5 separate regions of the Homo sapiens genome follow, and regions 1, 2, 3 and 4 are each linked to region 5. The links are contacts of gene promoters, found by promoter capture Hi-C in blood cells and fetal thymus (Javierre and others, 2016). All regions are on one chromosome and are shown on one strand. The core of a region is centred on a gene start or on the middle of the fragment in contact, and the rest is flanking DNA. Distances in the headings are between cores, read along the strand shown.

Region 1 (2,700 bases), core at 75-2,574, 360 kb after region 5:
AATGAGCCAAGATTGCACCATTGCACTCCAGCCTAGGCAACAAGAGCAAAACTCTGTCGCAAAAAAAAAAAAAAAAAAAAAAAGAGAATCACACTTTATATCTGTGGTCTTCCTCCCCAAAGCCCCAAATTCAAGTCTAATCCAGAGGAAAACATCAGTCAATTCTAACAGAAAGATATCCTACAAAATACCTGAGTAATACTCCTCCAAACTGTCAAGGTCACCAAAAATACGAAAAATCTGAGAAACTGTCACAGCCTAGAGGGGTCTAAAGAAACATGACAGCAAAATGGAATGTGGTATCCTGGATAAGATTCTGGAACAGAAAAAGCACTTTACATAAAAACTAAGAAAACCTGAATAAATTGTGGACCTTAGTTCATAATAACACATCAATGTTGGTTCATTAATTGTATCACACTGGTCGGGCGAGGTGGCTTACACCTGTAATCCCAACACTTTGGGAGGCCAAGGCAGGTGGATCATGAGGTCAGGAGTTCGAGACCAGCCTGGCCAATATGGTGAAACACTGTCTACTAAAAATACAAAAATTAGCTGGGTGTGATGGTGTGCGCCTGTAGTCCCAGGTGCTCGGGAGGCTGAGGCAGGAGGATCACTTGAACCCGGGAGGTGGAGGTTGCAGTGAGCTGAGATCATGCCACTGCACTCCAGCCTGGGTGACAGAGTAAGACTCCGTCTCAAAAAAAAAAAGAAAAGAAAAAAGAAAAAGAAAAAAATGGTATCATAATAACCATAATATAATTACACCACAAATTTACCATACTAACATAAAATGTTAATAACAGGAATAATAGGGTGCAAGGTATATGGGAACTCTTTGTACTATCTTCTCTGTAAACCTGTAACTTTTTTCTGGAAACCTAAAACCATTTTAAAAATAAAATAAAGTCTATTTTTCGAAAGTCTTAGTATCACCTCTAGATATTCATGTGTAGCAACTTGCTTCATTAGGCTATTTTCCCTCCCATATCCTAAATATCACTGGCTAAAAAAAGGCCTAGGAAAAATCAAAATAGACATTTCCTACATTATTATTCTGTGTTTAAGATGTATAAACAGGGAATAAGCTCTGCATTGACATCTCCAGGGAAGTTGTTCCGATATGTATTCACTGGTTATCATTTACCTTAAAGATAATTATCTTTCCAGTAGGAAACCATGACTTATACACAGCCTTGATCTTAATGAAGCCTATTGCTTTGTTAAAACAAGCTTTACTTCATAGCTAATACAGCAGTGAGCTCTGAAAACAGATAGCATGCAGATATCCCAAATGACAAAGATTCCCAACTAATAACACATCACTGCGGTTTTCATGTTGCACACTGCATTTAAACTTGACAACAGTGAACAGAAAAGGCATGGATCCCAGTCTACCCAGAAAGAAAGCTTCAGTTTGTCAGTCTGTTGAGATACAGTCCTATAAACCATATCTGCAACCCTAGTTTTTGTTTAATTTGAAACAAAAACTCCCTGCATACAGGGACAATAGTTAAAAAGAAGGTTCTGAATGGACAACTTTATACTAAGTCTTAAGTATGATGTTTTATATTTTTATAAAACCCGAAGTATCTGGGAAGTTAGGTCTCCCTGAGGGCAGACCTTAACTAATGACTCGGTAGAGACATAAACACACCAGCCTGCTGGTTCTCTGGTAAGGACGACTCCAGGGATTGACCATGCACACTGACTTAGAGTTAAGCAGCACTGAGCCACCTCCAGGGGAACAGGCTTAGAGCAGCTTGCTCACTGGCCTTCCTTCCCTTTCTATTCTATTTCTCTATTACCCTGTGATTTTTTCCTGGAAACTTTCTAATTATTTGCACAGGAATTCCTGTGTTAGGGTTTCCTTTGGGGCCCTAAGACACATGATATAATAAGTATTTTTAAACGGATGACTCTTATCTTTAAAAGCAGTATAACTTGCTACTTTTTTGACATATTCTTATGTAAAAGATAAAGTCACTTTGCCACTGCTGAATGTAAACAGAGAAAATTGATTTGGAAAAGTTTTAAAATTCAAATTTAAATATGAAAGATCTTCATCCTTTACCCGTGATACGTGCTACAGATATTTTCTCCCAATCCAGTTTTTTTTTTCAGTTGTCTTTTGACTTTATGATGTATTTGCCATGCTATTTGTTTTATGTGGTCAAATTTATCAACTTTTTATTTTATTGCTTATGGTTTTTTGAGTCATAGTTAGAAAGCCTTTTTCTTTTTAGTACTTGTATTGTTTCATTTTTCACATTTAGATCCCTGATCCATTTAGACTTCATTTTTGTTACGCTATAAGGTGTAGATCTAATTTTATCTTTTTCCAAATGGCCAACCAGTTGGCCCAGCTCTGTGTATTACAAAGCCCAACTCTGCTCCAATGATATGTGATAGCACCTTTATCTTTAACTTTCTACCTGCACTTGGGGTTATTTCTGGATTTTCTATTCTATTCTACTTGTCTTTTTATATTATTCACACACTAGTTCCACATCTTAATTATAGAGACTTTGTAACCTCTATAGTCATAAAACCTCTATGACTGCCTTCATAACCTGTATAATACAGTTTTAATTACAGAAACTAAAGACAAACATAACTGTAAACCAATATTGAACTCTGGCTAGTTGGTCTGTTTTTACACAGTGGTATGGGTTAGCAATTTTGAATCTACTTTTTGCA
Region 2 (2,700 bases), core at 19-2,518, 380 kb before region 5:
CTCCCTTGCTTCCTCCTCCTCACCGAGGACTGTTCCCTCTTTAGCAGTCCTGGAAGTTTGGTTCCACAGTCTGTAAGCGATAAGAAAAGCAGTCACCTTCTCCCTGAGGGAAGGGAAACTAACATTTTGAGTGACTAATAGGAACCAGGCACAGACACAGATGTTTTCTACAAAACCTTATAATACTGCAGATAGATGGCTATTATCTTCCCTGCACTAAAAACAAAACAAAACAAAACAAAACAAAACTCACGTAGAAGGATACAGAGGCATAGACAAGGCTGGGGACAGATAACCAACTCTTACAAGATCATGCAGCTGGTTAGCAAGTTGCAAAACTGGGGGTGAAAGCAAGTCTGTCCAGCTCCAGGCTCTTATGCTTCCTATCCTACCCAAGAGCTTGGAGGGAGAACCCTCCAACCTCCTCCCCACCCCCATCATGGGCTCTTCTGCCCTCGGTAAAGACATCAACTAGCTCCTACAACCTTGTCCTGTGGAAAAGACGTAGGAGCCCTAAGCTGCAGGCAGCAGATGGTTGGGGGCGGAGAAAAGCACAGGGGGGCAGTTAGTTCAACCTCCCCTCACTCTCACCGTAGTTCTCCGTTATCTTTGACAACTGGATAGGGGCGTCCAGTAGCACCTGGCTATTTCCCTGGCTTTGTGGCTCAGCCCTATGTGGGTAGGGATAGAAAGCGCAGAGTTAGGAGTTGAGGGAAAAGCTCTATGGCCATCAGATCTTCCTCCCCCACCTCTTGTCTCCGGACCGTTCGCCGTCCCTTCGCCCCCATCAACCCCTACTCCCTGGCACATACAGACGCAGAGTGTTGTACATGCGCTGGCACACGGCCCTGATGCCCGCGTCATCCTTGCTGTCCCCGGACACCTCTTGCAATAGTTCCCCTACAGCTTCCACCAGGTCATCCACAGACTCGAAGTCCGCGCTGCCGCTGTGCAAGACGCCTGGGCAGGGCGTGGTAGAACGAGGAAGGTATCGGGTAGGGTGGACACACAAGCAGTTTCAGACCCCAGACAGAGGCCCCAGTCCAGGCTCCAGACCCAACCAGCCCCCGGGACAAGAGGTCATGCAGAGGAGAGGCCTGGCAACAGTCCCGGGCACGACGCTCGCTTAGACTTTCCCCCGGCCTCCACTTCGGTCTCCCCAGCCGGCCGATTCAGTTCTGCTTACCGGTCACGTAGTCGAAGACTTGTCCGTCAATTTCGGGGAACTCGCTCCGCAGGATTTCGGCGCAAGTCGCCATGTTCCACTCAGGAACCCGTCCGCGCAGTCGCTGTGAGACCCCGGCCTAGGCCCGCCCCCCGCCCTGCCCCCGAAATCTCGCCCTTCCTTGCAAGGCGCATGTGTAGCGGTGACGCAGGAAAGGAGCGGAGTGCGCAGAGCCCGGTGGGCGGGGCGAGCGGGGCCTTGAGGAGAGGCGCCGAGTCTGCGCCGGAGCCGCGCTCTCTGCGCGTGCGCGACACCTTTTCCGCTGAAAGATTAGCCACATGTGCGGTTCTCGCTGCCTTCTGGGAGGTGGAGTTCCGGGAGCGAGGGGTGGGGCAAAGGCTGGGAGCTCAAGGTTTATCGGGGCCGCGAGGCACCCGTGGTCTGGCGGGTGGGAGCCTCCCAAGAGGCAGGCGGCTGATAAAGCACTTTGGCTTTGCCAGGTTTTATGCGCTCCCTCGAGGCGCGTCTGCTGCTGGTGCGTACCCAGTCAGGCCCATTTTGGAGCCTGCCCAGAGCTTTGCTGACTCACCCCGGTCCCTGACTCTCAGAAGCCCCCTGCTCAGTGCTTTGCTTTCGCGGGTCCCCAGACCCTACGGGCTTCTCAGCCTGGTGGCCAGCGCCACCCGCCTCCCCGCCGCGACCGCCTTTTCACTGTGTAATTCAGCCGACCTTTGTGAATTAAGCCCATTCAGTTCTTCCACCACCCCAGGGCACGACCAAATCCACCGCCAAAGGGCAAGAAAACCAGGACAACGTGGCCTGTATAAATTATTCCCTACCTACACCCTGAGCAGACTTCTCTGCACTCAATAAATGCCAATAAAAGGCTATTTCCTTTCACCGATTCCCTCGGGAAGTTAGGAATTTCCTCCAAAATGATGCTACTGCTTTATATTTAACGTGAATATTCCTCCAATTGGTCTCTAAAAGTGGCACCGAAAATTACATTATTACCCATTCATCCCTTTGGATTAAACATTGCCATCATGAGGCATCAATCCCGATATTGAACCATTTTACAGGAAATACAGGTAAAGAGGAATATGTTAAGTGACTTCATGGGGACAACAGGCAAATTCTGATGTGGTAAACTACAGAACTCTGGTTTCTTCCACAAAATTGCAAGACCTGAAGGGAAACATCAATTTTTAAAATTTGAGGAGCATTAACCAACCACAATGGACCTTATCTGGAAAAATTTGATAAGACACCTGGTTAAGTGAACACAAACTGGATGTGATATTAAGGAACTGGCCACGCATTGATCATAGTTGAAGCTGGGTGATGAGACATGGAGATTCATTATATTCTTTTTTTTTTTTTTTTTAATTTGAGAAGGAGTTTCGCTCTTGTTGCCCAGGCTGGAGTACAGTGGCGTGATCTTGGCTCACCGCAGCCTCCACCTCCTGGGTTCGAGCGATTCTCCTGCCTCAGCCCCCGAATAGCTGGGATTACCGGCATGCACCACCACGCCC
Region 3 (2,702 bases), core at 153-2,652, 290 kb before region 5:
CCTCTGGTTCAGTCCTCTCCTGTGCCTCCTTATCCAAAGTCATGGAATAATCTAACGAGGAGAGATGACAGTTATTGGCACTTTTACCAAGTGCCAGACACTGTGCTTCCCTCCTTCTCTTACTGAATCCTCACAACCCTGCAAGGTAGGTTCTGTTTTACAGATGAGGAAACCAGAGCTCAGATAAGTTAAGCAGTGCATCCAAGTTTATAAAACTAGCAACGTGAGACACCAAGATTCAAACCCAGGTCCACCTGTCTCCAAATCCCATGTTCTTGTCTCTCTACCATGCTGACCCCCTGGAAGAGAAGCACATTCTACTTTCACCCTTGACCTGCTGCCTTCTGGCACCTTACCTAACCTAGAGCCCTTGGATCCAGCAGATGGACAGGGAAATTATGGCTAAAGGAGGTGGGCACTTTGCTACAATGGTTTGGGTTTCATACCTGTAGAGAGAAAGAATTACACCTGTGGATAGAAAGATGGATGGATATAGAAGCTAAATACAAGAGAAGACGATCGTGGATGGTTGTCTTCCATGTAGGGTACCAATGGAGAAAAGACAGACTTTTCAAGTAGTATTGGGAAAACTGGATATCCATATGTGAAAGGATAAAGTTTGCTGGTGTTGAACTCTATTTTTCGAGAAGGAAAATGAAAGTGCTCTTGTTTGGCATGTAACTGGAAGGGGATTTTCCGTCTTTCAGAAAAGGAAAGTCTATGTGGGCATCTTAGTAATGTAGCTATGAAAGAACTCTATCCATCTTAGACAATCTCTAGGAGTTGGAAATTTGAAAAAAGTTCCTAGATGTTCTACTAGAGAGAGGTCCTCCTTCTTCCGCCTTCCCCCATCATTGCTCCTTTCTTACCTTGAAGCAGAAAACCGAGAAGGAGGTAGAAGGAAAATCTTTTCCTGTGGAACCAGCTTCCTTCCATCTTCTTTGTCTAAGTTCTTCTCTGAACATGTACTGGGACCCAGGAATGCCCAGATTAAAGCAGCACAGGCCACACCTAGAGTCTGACTTTGAATACTAATAGCATTGGTTGACCACTGACATTTGTAACCTTCCTTCAAAGAGTGTTCTGGTTGTCTTGTTCTTGCCTATGCTTAAGGTTCAGTCTGCTTTTAAGACTTTATCTTAGTCTTAGGTATTTCACTGCAACGTAAATGGTTATAGATAGTTCATACGTGATCAACTTGCAGATCTTGGTGAGATCCCTTGGTCTGAAGACTCATCTCTTCAATTTTGGAAAATTCTCAGACATTTATAAATGTTTCACTTCCTCTATTTTTCTTATTAGACATGTGTTGAATGGTTTCCTTCTATCTTACATGCCTTTTATTGCTGTTGTAACAAATCACAAACCCAGTGGCTTAAATAAACACAATTTGTTATTTTACTGTTCTGTGGGCCAGAAGTTTGAAATGGGTCTCACTGGGCTAAAATGAATGTGTCAGCAGGACCGCATTCCCTCTGGAGGCTCTAGAGGAGAATCCATTTCCTTGCCTTTTCCAGATTTTTTTTTTTTTGAGACAGGGTTTCACTCTGTTGACCAGGCTGGAGTGCAGTGGCGCAATCGCGACTCACTGCAGCCTTGACCTCCTGGGCTCAAGGGATCTTTCCGTCTCAGCCTCCCAAGTAGCTGGGACCTCACAGGTGTGAGCCACCAAGCTTGGCTATTTTTTTTTTTTTTAGTAGAAATGAGGTCTCGCTTTGTTGCCTAGGCTTGTCTCCAACTCCTGGCCTCAAGTGATCCTCCAACCTTGATCTCCCAAAGTGCTGGGATTATAGACATGAGCCATTGTACCCGGCCTTTTCCAGCTTTTAAACTGCCTGTATTTCTTGGTTCATTATTTTTACTTCTCCATCTTCAAAACCAGCAACATCAGGCCAATGTTTCTCACAAGGCATCTCATCTCTCTGGTTCTTATTTGTTTCTCTCTCCTTCTTCCACTTATAAGAGCCTTTGTGATTGCATTGTGTCCATTTGGATAATCCAGGATAGTCTCCCCATCTCAAAGTCCGATAATTAACAACCTTAATTCCATCTGCAACCTTAACTCCCCTTTTCCATATAACCTAAGGTTCCAGAGATTAGGATGTGGACAAATTCTGGGGGCCGTTATTCTGCCTAGCACACCTCTCTTTCCTATTTTCTACCTCTTTATCTCTGTCCCTAATGATTTCTTCAGATCTAGCTTCCAGGAAAAAAATTCTCTCCTCAACTGTGTTTATTTTAATTAATTAATTAATTAATTTTTGATGAAACTCAGTAATTTTTATTGCAACTGGAAGACAATACATTGCAGAAACTTTATGGTAGGTCTGGGGAAAAGTGTTATTTACAATAGATTATGACATAATTTGTCTTTGACAATATGATTACATACGAAGAATGCAAAATGCAAGTATGGATGCCTTCCATATTTTATTTTATTTTGAGATGGAGTCTCATTCTGTTGCCCAGGCTAGAGTGCAGTGGCGTGATCTTGGCTCACTACAGCCTCCACCTCCTTGATTTGAGCGATTCTCCTGTCTCAGCCTCCTGAGTAGTTGGGACTACAGGCTTGTGCCACCACACCCAGCTAATTTTTGTATTTTTATTAGAGACAGGGTTTCACCATGTTGTCCAGGCTGGTCTTGAACTCCTCACCTCAGCTGATCTGCCCACCTCGGCCTTCCAAAGTGCTGGGATTACAG
Region 4 (2,700 bases), core at 183-2,682, 330 kb after region 5:
TGGCATCTTCTGGACCAGCTCCTTTTCACTGGACGTGCAGCCTTCATACAGGATCTCAGTTCTCTCCCGCCCTCCATAGGCCCATGCCTTATGTTCCGTTCCTGCATGTGGCCACAGTTGAAAACTCTTTGGTGCTGGGGATGAATCCAGGTCCAGTCCCACCCTCCCCAGTCTCCCCACCATTGGCCTGGCTGCTTACCAGTCACTCTGTTTTTCACTTCCATGTTTGTTTACTGGCACCTGGGGATTTTCCTTTTCTCTTTGCACATTCAGATGTCTGCTTTGTTATTGATTCCCACATGAAACGCTGCCTTGAAACCCATGCCCAACCATCTCTACTCATCTGCCTGGATAGAGAATATGAGACTTCCTGCTTATAAATTCTTTGGGAAAGTTAAAGCTGGGTAGAGGGAAAAGGGGGTGGCCTTTGATGTGTAAGACAACTGGAAATCTCCCTTTGTAACACGAATCCTGGTTCCTCCACGTTTGGCAGTGGAAGGAGAAGCTCCCAGTGGGCACGGAAATTTGGACCTCATAGCCCCAACTCTTCCCTGTAAGGAAAGAGTCCCATACACAACTCTTCATTTAATTTCCTAAGGAACATCAAAGACCAGACTGGAACAGTTAAAACTTTACTTATAACTTAAACATAGGAAGGGAAGATACTCTAGATTATGAGGATGACAAGAATCAGCTATCTCTGAGAAGCAATGTTTGTCTTGAGAAGAAGTGTGTGTGTGTGCGCGTGTGCATGTGTACGTATATGGTTTAAAAATAAAAATAAACAAGCTGGACATTAGTTAAAGCAGTGAAAACAAATTTTATTCAGTAACTGCTGACAGTAGCGGAAAGAGCTGAGCTCTATTCTGATTTGTGCAGAGATGCTGACTGGGCCTTTTAAAGGGAGAATAAGGGAGGCAGGAGGTGGAGCGAGCAGGTTCAGGTAGAGTCAGGGAAGTGAAAAATGACAAAGTGTTGGGCAGAGTCAATATGATGAGACCAGCTGTGTCTGCTAGCTGGCAGTTCTCGAAGCTAGGATCCTCTCTCCTTCCTGATAATTACCTTGAGGGGAATGGCTTTCAGGTCCTTGAGAAAGACACCCCTGAGCTGTAGGCAACACATACATAGTAGCTCAGAGCAACAGAGGAAGGATTCACAATGGTAAGCCTCCTTTTTTTAGTAAATGCTCTAAAAAAGCAAGATCAGGGGCCTGTTGTCAGATGTTGGTGGAACAAACTCAATTCTTTTGACAGCCTTAAGCTTTCCCAGACAGCAACTCAAAAGGGGGCTGGGCCATCCCAGGGACGTGGCCTCAGGCTGCTAGAAGCCATGCGATGGTTTGGTGAAGTCTCTGAGCGCAGGGTATGAGTGGAGTGTTGGTACTGAGAGTTTCAGTGTCCCAGGTATACTTACCTTATGAAACAGATACAGTTAAAAGAACAGGTGTGCCCACCACCTGCGCTGCTGTTGGCAGCATTTTAAAAGAGAACTGACCATTTTCTACAATCCACCACAGGCCCACTGTGCGAGGCCAGGAGTGCCGAAGCCCCTTCTTCTAGAATCTGCTGAAGGCAACTAAAGAGAAAAATAGTACTAAAGCTTCTTTGACCCATACAGGCCAGAGCAGTGCTTTCAAACTTTCTTGAACATGTATCACAATAAGAAACACATTTTCTGTATTTCCTATTCTATTTTTTTCTTAAAATGCTGTTCACAAGCCACCAAATTAATTTCATCACCCACTAAATGGGTCACAGGTCACAACCCATATCTGAAAGGTACAAGGCTGGAGGGCACTGACCTGGGCAGACAGGGCAGGGGTGAGGGGAGATGAGGGTGGCAAAGCCTGGTGTATTAGTCCATTTTCATATGCTGTGAAGAAATACCCGAGACTAGGTAATTTATAAAGGAAAGAGGTTTAATGGACTCACAGTTCCACATGGCTGGGGAGGCCTCACAATCATGGCAGGAGGTGAAGGAGGAACAAAGACATGTCTTACATGGCAGCAGGAAGGAGTGCCTGTGCAGGGGAACTGCCCTTTATAAAACCATCAGATCTTGTGAGACTTACTCACTATCACGAGAACAGCACGGGAAAAACCTACCCCCATTATTCAATTACCTCCCACCAGGTCTCTCCCATGACACCTGAGGATTATGGAGCCACAATTCAAGATGAGATTTGGGTGGGGACACAGCCAAACCATATCATCTTGATTTAACAAAGCGGCAATACACAGAAGGCAGAGGGAAAACCTGACTGCGCAGAGAAATCTGTAAGTCTGGCCTTAGATAAACAGGATTTTTGTTGGTGAAATTCTGTTCTTTGTTTTTTTGTTAGTTTGTTTGTTTTGTTGAGTTTTTTGAGGTTTTTTTTTGAGTTTTTTGAGTTTTTTTGTTAGTTTGTTTTTTTGAGTTTGTTTGTTTTTTTCTGTCGCCCAGGCCGGAATGCAATGGTGAGATCTCAGCTCACTGCAACCTCCACCTCCTGGATTCAAGCAATTCTCCTACCTCGGCCTCCTGAGTAGCGGGGATTACAGGCACCTGCCACTACGCCCAGCTAATTTTTGTATTTTTAGTAGAGACAGGGTTTTGCCATGTTGGTCAGGCTGGTCTCGAACTCCTGGCCTCAGGTGATCCGCCTCCGCCTGCCTTGGCCTCCCAAAGTGCTGGGATTACAGACATGAGCCACTATGCCTG
Region 5 (2,700 bases), core at 159-2,658:
ACGTTGCTTGGGTAAGTTTCTCTGACTCTGACTCACAGGTTTCCGATTTTCCTGGAGCAGAATAGAACAGATTTCTGACTGGGCATGCATTCTTTGTTCTGCCTTCCACACAGGCTGTGTTAGGAAGTCTGAGATGGGGCGCCTCCAATAGACCCGGGCACCTGGCAGCGCCACCTTCTCCTGCCTGCCACTCCCTCCCATCGAGGGGGCCTCTGCTTGTGGACACAGACTAATCTCACTGCTTCTGGGCACTGGCATCCTTATTTCTGGGCATGGGCAGTTACTTCTCCAACTTTAAGGCACTCACTGGTATTTCTTTTAAATACTTTTCTTCTTGGGAAAAACTCCTTAACAGAGAAGAGTATATACAATCCACGGATAGGACAGACGACCCCAGAAGAGCCTGCCGGGCGCCGCTCCCCACTGGCCACTCAGCATGGGGTCAGCAGCAGAAGCTCCTGCAGGCCATGCAGATGGCGTGGAACCTGCGATCTGCTTCGCACACATGTGTAACGCTGCTACACTTCTGCCAAGTGTCTGGGACTGGTGCACACAGTCTATTCCTAGCATAGTGAGTTTTCTTGGTTATAATCAAACCTCTTCCTGACTCCTGTTGGGACCTCTCCGTCCCTTGCCACTGCTTTGACAATGGTTCTAGTAATGCTCTCGTGCTCAAAAAAGGAATTCTGCTCAGTCTGCCGTCTCTCAGGCCTTCATGGTTCTTGGCTCTAGGTATGGCCTCTTCCTATAGCTGACTCACTTGGGCTCAGAGTACAGCCCCTCCACACCAAGGCCAGGCATGGGAGAGAACCACCTGCTGAAGGCTGAAGCCCAATCTCTCTTCAGGGTAACTGCTGGAGCTACTGGTAACTCCAGCCCACAAAATGGGTGAAATCTCTAGCCTGCCACTCATTTTCTACCTCCTGGGGAGGCGGGCCCAAGGAGCCCCCTTAAGCACACCCAGGGAGAAGGGCCTGAGGCACACGGCCTGGCCCGCTCTCGTGGGGCCTTTACAAAGACTGCAGAAACGCTGGCCGACAAAGCACGGATCCACTGACAGCCTCACTCCACACTCAGGAAACAAACTCCTGTCCTAGGAGGATTTCATCTGGAGTGCAGCGTGCTGGTGACACGTGGGAACAGGCAGCGGCAAAGGTTGGGTAGCCATGACATGCCGAGTCACACTGGAAACCACCTCCTTCCCGAGCAGCAGGGTCCTCAGTTACAGCTTCGCTGTGCCTTCAAAGCCTGCTTCTCCAGGGCACCTCACTCCGCTCACTGGTCCTCATTCAATATTCCCATGTGTTTGTTTGTGAGGAAGTCCAGAAAAGGAATGTTGCAAATGGCCTGGTGAATATTACTCACTGTAATTTCTTTGGGAATCCTGGTCCAAAAAACAAAGGGTGTTACCAGGTGAAATTCTCTCACGTATATCTCATCATTTATTCACTTAACTCATCACAGGGACCATCCCAGGCAGAGGCCCCGTGGAGAGGGCTCCTGAGCCACAGACATAGCTTAGGGCCACTCTGGGGTGAGGACTGCCTTCCTGTCATAGGCATGAGAAGGATGTCAACAAGTTGGTTGAATAATTAGGAAAAAAGATTCTGAGAACTGAGAAAAGAGAAAGAAAACAAAGCGGATGGCAGAACGGAATGACACATTTGTGAGTGAGTCTCAGCAGACCGAAAGCTGAGTCAAAGCACCACAAAACTCTGGGACCTTATTTCCCATCTCCTAGAAAGACGGGAGACGGAGCCACGCCAGGCCAGGCGTGATGTTAATCGTTCCATCAAAAGCACCTAAGTCACTCTACCCCTCCAGGACAGGGAGCACAGAGGTAAGCAGGGGCCACAGGAGGCCCTGGCTCACTTGTGGGTCCAAGCAGGACAGTGGGCAGCAGGACCGGAACTCTTGGTTCCCCTTCCTTTTCTCTAAAGACGCCTATGTTGTCTGATATATTCCTGTGAAGTTTCATCTACTATTCCTCTGATTTAGGCCCTTCATGTCCTCAGGCACTTTGCTACAATTTTATAAATCTGTGACAGCCTTTAGCATAATGCAATAAAATAATATTTGTTTCCTCCGAAAGAAAAGCAGATGTGGCCTATCTACCATCCTTTCAGGGCCTAGGAACAGACTGAAACTCAGTGTCTTAATCAAAGACAACGAGTCAGCAAAGAGCAGTGGCGAGCCCAGGGGCCTCAGAGCCAATGAGACCTGAGTCGGAAGTCCAGGTCTACACTGTATTTGCTGGGTAAGCTGGGTAAAATTACCTTTCAAAGCCCGGTTTCCTGATTTTTAAAAAGAGAATAATAGTTCTGCAATGAAAAACAAATTAGGTAATATATGCAACGCTTGGCCCTCGTGTCTGACATGTAATGGACACTGTTATCTTTAATTGCAAAGCTAATATTTATTCAACCCTGTAATAAAACAGAGTCCTAGGTGTCTGTGAAGTAATGAGGAGGATATAAACCTCTGAGCAAAGCTGAGTGAGCTTTCACAACCATGAGGTTCTCTAAAAATGACAAAGCAGACCCTTGAGCTCATCTGGCTCTAAGAGTGTCCTAAGCACTCACTCCATCTCCTACTGGATTGATGTAAGTATAAAACACCTTCATGGGCAATTCAACTGTTAGGAAAGAGGTGTAAGCCTCACACCACAGACTGCAGAGATAGTAATACCTGTTGTGAGAA

The links. The method cuts DNA at HindIII sites, captures the fragments that hold promoters and counts their contacts. A CHiCAGO score of 5 or more calls a contact.
Region 1: a fragment that was not itself captured here is called in contact with the fragment with the promoter of YEATS2-AS1 in region 5 in 13 of 17 cell types (megakaryocytes, naive B cells, M1 macrophages and 10 more); the score reaches 11.1 in megakaryocytes.
Region 2: a contact is called between the fragment with the promoter of ABCF3 here and the fragment with the promoter of YEATS2-AS1 in region 5, in 11 of 17 cell types (M1 macrophages, erythroblasts, M0 macrophages and 8 more). The highest score is 11.6, in M1 macrophages.
Region 3: the fragment with the promoter of HTR3E here is called in contact with the fragment with the promoter of YEATS2-AS1 in region 5 in 4 of 17 cell types (M0 macrophages, M1 macrophages, monocytes and 1 more); the score reaches 7.8 in M0 macrophages.
Region 4: a fragment that was not itself captured here is called in contact with the fragment with the promoter of YEATS2-AS1 in region 5 in 1 of 17 cell types (erythroblasts); the score reaches 5.5 in erythroblasts.

Annotation. Positions count from the first base shown.
Region 1 is chr3:183,448,614-183,451,313 of GRCh38, reverse strand. All of the region lies in intron 1 of SNHG33 (small nucleolar RNA host gene 33), which reads right to left. Among named protein-coding and RNA genes, the nearest start is that of SNORA63D, 1.9 kb to the left of the region's middle. The HindIII fragment of the contact is 177 bases long and covers 1,236-1,412 here.
Region 2 is chr3:184,184,767-184,187,466 of GRCh38, reverse strand. It overlaps ABCF3 (ATP binding cassette subfamily F member 3), which reads right to left and starts at 1,268. Exons shown (of 21, transcript NM_018358.3): 1 at 1,187-1,268; 2 at 813-960; 3 at 592-671; 4 at 24-70. The coding sequence starts at 1,259. RefSeq lists enhancers at 964-1,283, 1,761-2,475. The HindIII fragment of the contact is 6,180 bases long and covers 1-2,700 here.
Region 3 is chr3:184,095,764-184,098,465 of GRCh38, reverse strand. It overlaps HTR3E (5-hydroxytryptamine receptor 3E), which reads right to left and starts at 1,402. Exons shown (of 9, transcript NM_001256613.2): 1 at 870-1,402. The coding sequence starts at 936. All of the region lies in intron 2 of HTR3E-AS1 (HTR3E antisense RNA 1), which reads left to right. The HindIII fragment of the contact is 4,461 bases long and covers 1-1,675 here.
Region 4 is chr3:183,483,975-183,486,674 of GRCh38, reverse strand. No RefSeq gene overlaps it. Among named protein-coding and RNA genes, the nearest start is that of SNORA63E, 32 kb to the right of the region's middle. The HindIII fragment of the contact is 339 bases long and covers 1,263-1,601 here.
Region 5 is chr3:183,809,159-183,811,858 of GRCh38, reverse strand. It overlaps YEATS2-AS1 (YEATS2 antisense RNA 1), which reads left to right and starts at 1,408. Exons shown (of 3, transcript NR_046727.1): 1 at 1,408-1,840. It overlaps YEATS2 (YEATS domain containing 2), which reads right to left. Exons shown (of 31, transcript NM_018023.5): 30 at 2,689-2,700; 31 at 1-1,384. The coding sequence ends at 1,276. RefSeq lists an enhancer at 1,026-2,225. The HindIII fragment of the contact is 7,253 bases long and covers 1-2,700 here.